Regions from separate parts of the Homo sapiens genome. Here region 2 is linked to region 1. The links are contacts of gene promoters, found by promoter capture Hi-C in blood cells and fetal thymus (Javierre and others, 2016). All regions are on one chromosome and are shown on one strand. Each heading gives the region's core, a stretch centred on a gene start or on the middle of the fragment in contact. The rest is flanking DNA. Distances are from core to core; before and after follow the strand shown. Region 1 holds the start of SELENOT (selenoprotein T). Region 2 holds the start of MBNL1 (muscleblind like splicing regulator 1).

Region 1 (5,397 bases), core at 1,926-4,425:
TATCTAATTATATTGCTCAATCAACATAATAAACCACAGACTCAGATACACAAGTAATACTGTGCCAGTCTGGTAGACTTCTTGAGATGGTCACATCTTTAGCATGCTTAATTCCTGGCATACAGCAGGTATTACACACAGCCTGGGCAACAAGGCAAGACCAGGTCTCTACAAAAAATATGAAAATTAGCCAGGCGTGGTGGTGCGCGTCTGCAGTCCCAGCTACTTGGGAGGCTGTGGTGGGAGGATTATCGGAACTCAGGAAGTCAAGGCTCCGTGATCATGCCATTGCACTCCAAACTGGGTGACACAGCGGGACTCTGTCTCAGCAAAAAAAAAAAAAAAGGAAGAAAGAAAGGAAAAAAAAAAACGAGAATAGGAAACTCTGTCGTAAGCTACTCTACAAGCTTGATCTCTCAGCACTATGTTGCTATTGTGTTGACTAACAATTGCAAAAGTGGTACAATTACCAGGTGATATATTGAGGTATAGTTATTTTTGATAAAATACTCATGATCACTATAAGGGGAAAAAGTCAGTGGAAATGAAGGTAAAATAGTTCTCTTTTGATTGTTAGCAGTGGTAATTAATGAAAAGCTGCATTTTATAATACTGACTTCAAATGGAATTTTAAAATTCTCATGTTTATCCTCAAACGTATTAGCTTCCTGTCCTTTCTCAAACAAACTTGCAAATTAATGTCCACAAGATTCTAGCAAAACCAGAAACCCAATATTCACTTTACCATAAACAGATTAATCTCTGGGGGGAAAAGCAACAAACAACAAGCTAAGTTGATCTGTATTTGGTGGGTCTTATTAATAACGTTATTTCCCATCTACAGATTAAACAAAAAATGATCTCCGGTGGATAGTGTCAGAAAAATAAAAATAAAAATAATTTTTTAAATGGAAGCATTTTTGTTATATAACATGCTCAGAGTGACTGTAAAAGAAAATTATTAGACTTTTGGGACAGGTCTGTACTTAAAAACAAAGAAAAACAAAGTATCAAAAGTTTAACTGAAGTACTTACTACTTTTTTTTTAAGTTTAATTTGAAGGACTGAATGCCCTTCCCTACGTTTGTTTACACATTTTGAAAACCTTGCTATGAATAGCCTTGGTGGAAGATACACCTGGTAAATTATTGTGACAAGTGTTCCAAAAAAAGCAAACGTAAAAGGGGTATTTTGGAAAAGCAAAAATACAACCAAGAGATAAAAGTAGGATACAGAAAAATTAAATAATTTGAAAACTGCAATTTTTTAACACTTAAATCCGTAAGTATCACAACCCTTAACAATCTTTAGGTTAGTAAGATGATTACCACCTTCTAATTTAAAAATTAAGGAAAAAAGTTAATGGATAAACCATTCTCCCATTTGCAGTATTACATGAAAGATGATATATTCCAGAAACATAGTACATTGTACAGGGAGGTTTTTTTTTTTTTTTTTGAGACGGAGTTTCGCTCTTGTTGCCCAGGCTGGAGTGCAATGGCGCGTTCTCGGCTCACCGCAACCTCCGCTTCCCGGGTTCAAGCGATTCTCCTGCCTCAGCCTCCCAAGTAGTTGGGATTACAGGCATGCGCCACCACGCCAGGCTAATTTTTGTATTTTTAGTAGAGATGGGGGTTTCTCCATGTTGGTCAGGCTGGTCTCGAACTCCCGACCTCAGGTGATCCGCTAGCCTCGGCCTCCAAAGTGCTGGGATTACAGGCGTGAGCCAGCGAGCCCGGCCTTGTTTGTTTTTAATCAGGAGAAATTGCAATGTTTTAGTTTTCACTCAAAAAAATAAAGTCTCACCATCTTATTTTCTAACTCAAACATCACCTTAAGCCGATTTTTAAAAATTATTTTAAAGGTTTGCTTGGTCTTCAGTGAGTAAGTAAAAAGCTAGTTGGAGAAGTAGAAAATCAAAACTTTAATATACTAATACATGAAGTTCTTAAAAGAAGGTTTTAAATGAATGATGTCCAACACCAACATTCCAATGTATCCGGACTCTGATGATTTACTAATCTGGCTATTCTGGGATGGTCGGTTTATCCTGAGAAAATGTCATCTTTGGAGGTGTAAGATTCTCATTTCTATAATTTTACAATTTTGGTGTTTTTTCCCCCATCTTCAGAGCCTTTCAATCCCCACCCGCAACCCCACTTACCGTATAAAATGCATCATTGCCCTGCTTCTAACGATTAGGTTAAAAACAAAATCATTTAAAGAACACTGTCGAAAACTGCCGAGATCTGCTGGATACACAAGACAACTGAAAGGTAGAAAGAGATGCCAGAGCAGGCAACTCCTGGGAGGCAGGTGAGGAGGGAATGCGAGCGAACTGTCAATGTTTAGAAGAACAACGTGCTCCTTTTCTGACACTTTGGAAATGGCAAACAGAACCAGCATCCCCAGACCTTCCTTCCACCCCCTCCAGCTGTCAGACGCCCCATTCGCAAACTCAACAGTCCCCCCAGCAAGTTCAGGAGAAAAACGGCGTCTGTCACTCCCGGATCCTCTCCAATGACCCGAATTAACCTTCATCTAGCCAGGCAGCGAAGCCGCCCGGCATTACCCCGGAAAAGAGGGCAGAAAAAGTGAACTGACAAACGGTTGGCGCTCCTCCGCCGACGCGGCGCCTACTCATCCCCATCTCCGCAGGCAGCCGGGGTGGCTATGGCGTGACGCCGCCAACCAGTCCTCCGTACTAACAGGTGTCCCCCAGTCTTCGCCTTTCAGCGTTTAACCTTCTCGCGCCCTCCTTCCCCATTCCCACTGTTCTAGGAGGCAAAAAACAAGTGAGCAGTTATACCTGGAAAAGGAGGGCGGCCTGACCGCGCTAAGGGGCCGCGAGAAGGCTGGCTGTGGAAGGGCGCCGGCACAGTTCTACGAGGCCAGCGAAGATGCGGCCATTTAGGCCGCGAAGCCGGGGCCTCGCGTAGCCAATGGCGCCGAGCAGAGGCGCGGCGGGGTGGCCGGGGCCCAGTGCACATACTCACCAAATCTGGAACTTGAGCAGCGGCCCCGTGGCGTACTGCATCTTTAATCTCTTGCTGGGCACGCCGCCCAGATTGGCCGAGGCCTCGCTCCGGACCATCGCAGACGCCGCCACTAGGAGAAGCAGCAGAAGCCTCATCTTAAATGAGCCAGCCACTTCGGCCGCCCTCAGACAGACTGCAGCCAGCCCAAAGCCCAGGAGCGAGCTGCTCCCCACTGCGCAGGCGCGATCAGCCAAGGTCGGGGGAGGGGAGCAGTAATGCGCCTGCGCGGCCCGGCGCCCGCGCACACTCCTGGAGTGAAGAGCCGACCTGTTTCACTGTCCTGACTCACCACCATCTTGGTAGTGTGCAAGACTCTGGGACGGCATGAGAAAGGCAGAAAGGGAGCAAAGGAGCTGGTGGGGTGTCACAGGGCCTATGTATGAGGCAGATGTGAGTTCTGCATCCAGTTTTGCAATTTATCCATTTACCTGCCTGAGACTTGGAAACACCTACTTTATAGTCCTGATTCAAGTGTTGGCGGATGGAAGGGAGGAGACTCCTGACCCTCAGAATGGTAATGCTGAAATTTTTTGGGTGCGCTGTTATGGCCTTTTCTTTGATCTTACAATATTGCTTTCTCCTGAAAGAATATTAAACATAAGTTTTAGGAAACCTTTGGACAATTCCAAACATATCCAAAAATAGAATAACTACCTTAGCAAGCTTTAACAGTTACTATACATTTTGACAATCTTGATTTGTCTATATCTCTAAACACTTCTTCCCTTCCTAGGCATATTTGGAAGCAAATCTCAGACATCATATCATTTCATCTGTATATATATATTTTTAAACACGGTCTCACTGTCACCCAGGCTGGAGTTCAGTGGCGTGATCATAGCTTACTGCAGCCTCACACCCCTGGGCTCAAGCAGTCCTGCCTCAGCTTCCCAAGTGGTTAGGAATACAGGCACAGGCAACTATGCCTGGCTTACAATTATTTAAGCACATATTTCTAAAAAAGAATTATTATTAAAAAGAAAAAAAATTGACCACAGTGTTTCACATGTCCGTGTGAAGAGACTACCAAACAGGCTTTGTGTGAGCAACACAGCTGTTTATTTCACCTGGGTGCAAGCGGGCCGAGTCCGAAAAGGGAGTCAGCAAAGGGTGGTGGGATTATCATTGGTTCTTATAGGTTTTGGGATAGGCGGTGGAGTTAAGAGCAATATTTTGGGGGCAGGGGTTGGATCTCACAAAGTACATTCTCAAGGGTGGGGAGAATTACAAAGAACCTTCTTAAGGGTGGGGGAGATTACTGATCAACAAAGTACATTGATCAGTTAGGGTGGGGCAGAAACAAATCACAATGGTGGAATGTTATCAGTTAAGGCTATTTTCACTTCTGTGGATCTTCAGTTGCTTCAGGCCATCTGGATGTATATGTGCAGGTCACTGGGGATATGATGGCTTAGCTTAGGCTCAGAGGCCTGACATTCCTGTCTTCTTATATTAATAAGAAAAATAAAACAAAATAGTGGTAAAGTGTTGGGGCAGCGAAAATTTTTGGGGGTGGTATGGAGAGATAATAGGCGATGTTTCTCAGGGCTGCTTCGAGCGAGATTAGGGGCGGCGTGGGAACCCACAGTGGGAGAGATTCAACTGAAGAAAGATTTGGGGGTAAGGGGTGATATTGTGGGGTTGTTAGAAGGAGCATTTGTCGTATAGAATTATTGGAGATGGCCTGGATGCAGTTTTGTATGAATTGAGAAACTAAATGAAAGACACAAGGTCCGAATAAAAGAAGGAGAAAAATAGGTATTAAAGGACTAAGAATTGGGAGTACCCAGGACATCCAATTAGAGAGTGTCCAAGGGGGTTCAACGTTGTTGTCTGCTTGGTTGGAGAGTTTTTGGGCTCTATCTCTATCCTTAAGTTTTTTTATGTTGTCATATACCAGGCCAGATTGATTTAGGTAAAAACAACACTCTTCATTTAAAAATATACAAAGTCCTCCTTTTTCAGCAGTGAGTAAGTCGAGGCTTCAGTGATTTTCAAGGAAAGAGAGGAGGTGGGAAGGCCAAACTGAGGAATTATGTCTGACAGAAGGGAAGAAATGACCGCGGTGGCCTTCTTAGACCCTGTGGGAAAGGCCTCTACCCACCCAGTGAAATGTCTACCCAAACCAAGAGGTATTTTAGTTTCCTGACTTGAAGCATGTGAGTAAAGTCAATTTGCCAGTCCTCGGCGGGGCAAATCCCCGAGCTTGATGTGTAGGGAAGGGAGGGGGCCTGAACAATCCCTGCAGGGTAGTAGAATAGCAGATGGAACATTGAGAAGTGATTTCCTTGAGGATAGATTTCCACGATGGAAAGGAAATGAGAGGTTCTAAGAGACGGGTTAGCAGCTTGTAACCTAC
Region 2 (5,159 bases), core at 454-2,953, 1.7 Mb before region 1:
TCTCTACTCTGTCCAATATGGCTACATTTCGTTTTGAGATTAATATTTCCTGAACTGTTTTAACAAAAGATAATCATAGTAACCTAGAGAACATAATCAAAAACAGTAGAAAAAGAACCAAATGTGTAAGACTTAATTCTCCTAACACAAATATTTCAAGATGTGTGTTACACATATTTTTACAGATTTCACAGGCACATATGATGAGATGCCTCTCTAAAAACATGAACGATTATCTGAAAGAGATGTTCTGGATCTGTTATGAAAAAAACTGGTAATATGTAGAAAACTATAACCATGTATTTACTATTTTTTTCCTCAAGGATGTATCTGTAATGCTTATATAAACGTTTATTTTTTATAATATGAAAAACACTACGTAAAAACCGATTTCTCTACCTCAAATTTAAAAATAAAAAATATGTCTAGAGACAGTTAATGCCATATGCCAATAGCTCTTCTTGAATCCTCTGCCTTGCAATCAATAATTCTCCAACCATTAGTGAATATGCTCCATGACTCATCAGAAACAATATACAAAGTTAATGGGGATCATTCTTCCCCTCACCCTCCACACACGCACTGACACTAATGGAAGCTATGCCTCATCTAGTGGAAGACAGACTCAAGATGGCACCAAGCTGAGGCAACTCTTCTTGAGGCTCTATATACAAACTAGCTAACCTCCCCACGAAGAATCCACAACATCCATTTTACATTTTTTGGCATCCTTCGAGAAAATAATAGTAAGCATACTTTATATGGCTAGAAAAGAACCACATTTTTTTCAGCTTAACACTCACTGTGAATGGCAAAATGTACTTCAGTTATGAAAATATCTGAAAGGAATGTTTCCAGGACCTATGCCATTGTGCTTTGTTTACCAGTCAGATGCCTTCTCAAGAATGTGTTCAAATTATAAAGACAGTGTCTCCATGTATAGAAATTCTTCAGAGCCCATAATGTTACGTTAGAAACACATTTTCACCTTTGCTAATATTCAAAACAATACCCTCCTATCTGCAGGTAAAAATCTTTCATTCTTATGAATGCAGCAATCTTTTATTAACATTTGCTCAGGACTTTGGATATGGGTTTTTTTTTTTAACTTTCTAAAGAAAGTTCTAGCAAAAGAAAACACATATTAAGTATTTGAAGATAATTGCTATTTACTAAAATCTCTATTTTAAAATAATTTTAGTGACTCGTTTATGTTTGGTAACTTCAGGACAATGATAACTACAGTGTCTCTAAAATGTTCCTAAGTAACAATCATACTCTATTTTGGCCTTTGAGAGGTGTTAAGACTCATTCTCTAATTATAAGTTTTTCTCTATTATTACTACCTCACCATCAAATCTCTAAACTAAATAGCAGCTTTGAGGAAATAAAAATAGATGTTAGGTGGTGTGTTTTCTCAAATTTTGGTTACAATGGATAAGAAAGACGAGGTATTTCTATGTATAATAAAATAAGCCAATTTTATTGTTTTGACCAGCAAAATCTTTAAGCTTTCTCCCAGAATATTGTTTTCCTGCTTTATCCTAGAACAACACTGTCCAAAATAAATACGATGTTAGCCACATTTGTTATATTTTCTAGACACCATGAAAGAGAGAGAGAGAGAGAGAGAGAGAGAGAGAAAAGAAACAGGTGAAGTTAATCTAGTAAGATCTTCTATTAGAACCAATATATCAAAAATTATCATTAAAACATATCATAAATATAAAAATATTAATCAGATGTTTTACTTTCTTCCCCTCATATAAAGTTTTCAAAACCGGTAGTATTTTACACTTCTCAATCTGGACAAGACACATTTCAAGTGCTCAACAGCCACATGTGGCTACTGTACTGGACAGCACATTCTAGATTTCCAAACATATGAAGCTTTTTGGCCTAAAAAAACCATACACTTTAAAATCTTTCTATGTCACATTCTCTATGATCCATATGGTTGATGGGATTTTATTTTGGGCCAATCACTTCGTGAACCTATTTCACTTCTTTCCTCCACTCTTTTGACTCTCATATCTACTACCCACCCTAATGCCTTTGCATACAGAATTTTAAAAACCCAATCACCTATTCTTTTCAGCTTCTCCTAACCAAGACCTGAGATGTTCTCTAATCCGCACATCTATCACCAAGCAGAAAGCCAGAAGGTGCAGCAAGATTATTTATTCTCTGTTTCCATATAGATCTATCAAATACAGGCCTAATGTATGGCAACAGTGACAAATGCAAGGGCATTTTTTTCTTATAATGAAGATAAGGCATTTTATATAATAAAGTAACACACCCTTCCTCAATGAGAAATACAATTTTCAATGAGAAATATAATTTTACTCTTTTTTTTTCCCCCAGGAGAAATTTTGGGTTAGTCTGTTCTTGTTCTGGAACAAAACCCAGTGTTTCATTTCATAGGAATTCTGTGCCCAAAGGAAGAACAGAATGTTGGAATCAAAATTTAATGAATTCAACTTGGAGTCTAACTTTGCCTCAAATGTGGAAATGTAAACACAAGCAATAATATCTCAAACCATATAACACTTCAGTTTCTCTTTGGCATGACTGCGCAGAGTACCACACTTGATGTGTATCTACACACAAATTTGTTCACAGTTACATAAGGAAAAAAATTAAACTAGGCATATGTGAGGTTTTTCTGAGTCTCTTAGTAATAATGAAATCTGATTATTATGTCTTAAGTGACACTATAATTATAGATGAACAGGTTTTCTGTTGCTGACCCAACCTGTTCCTTAAAACACAAAAGGCAACTTTTGTAGTCTTCAGCAAGGAAACCCCCCATTAAACAAATAAGACTAAAAAAGCTATGCCTACATTTTCAAAGAAGACCTAACAATATAATAATAATAATAAAGTAACTCCCATGCAAATACACAAAACAGATAAAAACTAGAACATTAGGTTTTCTAAAGAAGTTTAGCCTTAGTTGTCACCAACTTTAAGAAAGCAAGATACAAGTGACAGCGATGTGCATTCTCAGGCTACAAAATAACTTATTCAGTGCCTCTATCTATAACTACATCTAAGACATTCTAAGTATTGAACTGCACATTCCTGGGATAAATTTTACAGTCGTTGAACTTTCATTTTCTCTCTGGGTGATAATATTTTATCTCAACAGCAAGGAGAAACACCAACACACTTAGGAATCCACACAGAGAGATAACTGTGGAGTGGCTCTCTTGTGCTGGTATAGAATACTTAGGTACTAAACACCCTCTGTGTATAAACAGACACTGTGTTCAAACCCAGGAGGAAGGGACATAGTGTCCACCGGTGTAGTATTTCAAAGCACGCTGCAGAGGGCTCGAAAGTCTAAAAGCATTAATTATGACTTCTCTCCTAGCGTATTAATTTAAGAAACTCCTCAGAGTATATGGCAGAGTTTGCCATCCATCTGCTATGACTTGTGCCTGTGCTGGTGGGCACACAAAGTGAAGTCAGCGGCAACAACCTTTCCGGCAGCTTCTTAACTTTAATCCTGGGGAGACATACTCCACGGAAATACACCCCAGAATCCCAACAGCCGCATACTCTCCCGGCCCCAGAGAGCCTTAAGAATACAATATTACTCTGGCAGCAACACCCCTGTAGTTGTAAAGTGCTGTGCGAGGGGAAGGCATAAGCGCCACCATATACCTGCTCGTGTTACAGGCTCTGGAATCAAAGTATTCTCACATGACACATTACTACCAATAACAGATTCCGGCTCCGTTTAAAAAAAAAAAAAAAAGTTGGGGGGTGGCTACATATTTGTCCTGCTTTTGTCTAAAAACCAGAACCCAAGTACTAACTACTTTTCATTCTTTTCAACCTTTCATGAAAGCAATTCAACCAACTGCGGCTCCACCCAAAGAGCTTCTATACTTACTTTTCTTACAGTTTTTGAGTGACGCACTACAAAACGATGAAAAAAAAAAGAAGAAGAAGAAAAGGAGGAGGCAGCCCTCTCCTACAGGGCGTCTTCCGCCCTGTAAACTTGGCAAAAGGCAAACTGGCCTGAAATACAGCACTCTCCATATAAGGCAGCCCAGCTAAACATGTCATGCGTAATTTATGGGTAGCAAGCAGAGAATTAACCTTTGCGTGCACATATTTGGCCCAGATGAAAACCGGGCGGGATGGCAGCCCCGGGGCCAGGGATGCGGGAGCCGCCGGGAAGACCCGCGCGCCGCTCGACTCAGAGGGACTCACACCTTCCCCCGACAAAGGTCATTAAGTTGTGAGTACACTTGCACGCACCTGTTTCTCTTCTCGCCCCCCTGTTTCTCCCTGGGTCCCGCTGGGCTGCCAAGCCGTGCGCGGGCTGTGCCGTGACAGCGTCCGCAGAGCCCGCGGCAGGGAAGGGCGCAGGAGCGGCTGCGGCTCACCCTCCCGCCTTCCCCCGGGCAGGAGGTGCTGAGGGACGCGAAACCAACTACCGCGAGCGGCCCGCCCCTGCCCGGGAGAACCGCGGCCGGCGAGCACCTCCTCGCACTTCCTCCTTCAGCCACGGGCAGACCCGCCGGAGTCCGAACAATGAAGCGGCGCGGGGAAACTGTGAAAATGGAAACTTACCTCTCACATTTTTTTTTCAGAGGCGGCCCCACTGTCGACCAAGTGCCCAAGGCATTGTGGGAGTCATGATTCCAAGATGCCCGCGACGGAAAATGGAACTTGTCAGCTCCTTGTCATGGGAGCATTGTGGGCGCCACAACTCATTCAGCTGCAGTGAAAAGACTGTTGCATGTCGCTGTGCAGCCTCTTATCGCCGAGGTCTGGCTTCCGCTGCTGCTGCGCGGCCCCTCCCCCGCCCGCCCAGCCCCACCAGGAAGCCCAGGGCGGACTCGTCGAGCTCCTAATGCACGCGGCGGCGAGAAAAACGCTCTTCAACTTTCCGCCGGCGCCCTCCCGCGCTTCCCCGGGCCACAGGGTCGCCTGTCAACCGGACAGAGCCCGCAAGAGCGGGTCATGGGCGGTCGCCCAGCGGCGCCGAGAGCAGGAGGAAGCCGGAGCCCGCGCGGGCGCCGTGGATCCCCTCGGCCTCCCGTTGGTATCTTCCATCTCATGCGTTCAGCATTGTAACCTCGCGGCGGGCGTGCAGACCGGACGCCCTCCCGCTTCTTCTACCGACTGCTAGGCACACC

The links. Contacts are between HindIII fragments. The CHiCAGO score rates a contact against its expected background, and 5 or more counts as called.
Region 2: a contact is called between a fragment that was not itself captured here and the fragment with the promoter of SELENOT in region 1, in 1 of 17 cell types (fetal thymus). The highest score is 6.7, in fetal thymus.

Annotation. Positions count from the first base shown.
Region 1 is chr3:150,601,099-150,606,495 of GRCh38, reverse strand. It overlaps SELENOT (selenoprotein T), which reads right to left and starts at 3,175. Exons shown (of 6, transcript NM_016275.5): 1 at 2,997-3,175. The coding sequence starts at 3,133. LOC124900547 (a long non-coding RNA gene) reads left to right here and starts at 3,313. Exons shown (of 2, transcript XR_007096128.1): 1 at 3,313-3,552. RefSeq lists enhancers at 2,717-3,016, 2,291-3,064, 3,037-3,186, 3,307-3,386. The HindIII fragment of the contact is 3,294 bases long and covers 410-3,703 here.
Region 2 is chr3:152,268,524-152,273,682 of GRCh38, reverse strand. It overlaps MBNL1 (muscleblind like splicing regulator 1), which reads right to left and starts at 4,754. Exons shown (of 10, transcript NM_021038.5): 1 at 4,591-4,754. MBNL1-AS1 (MBNL1 antisense RNA 1) reads left to right here and starts at 4,057. Exons shown (of 2, transcript NR_027038.1): 1 at 4,057-4,255; 2 at 4,611-5,159. RefSeq lists silencers at 4,307-4,416, 4,817-4,866, 4,917-4,976 and enhancers at 3,867-4,708, 4,709-5,159. The HindIII fragment of the contact is 379 bases long and covers 1,514-1,892 here.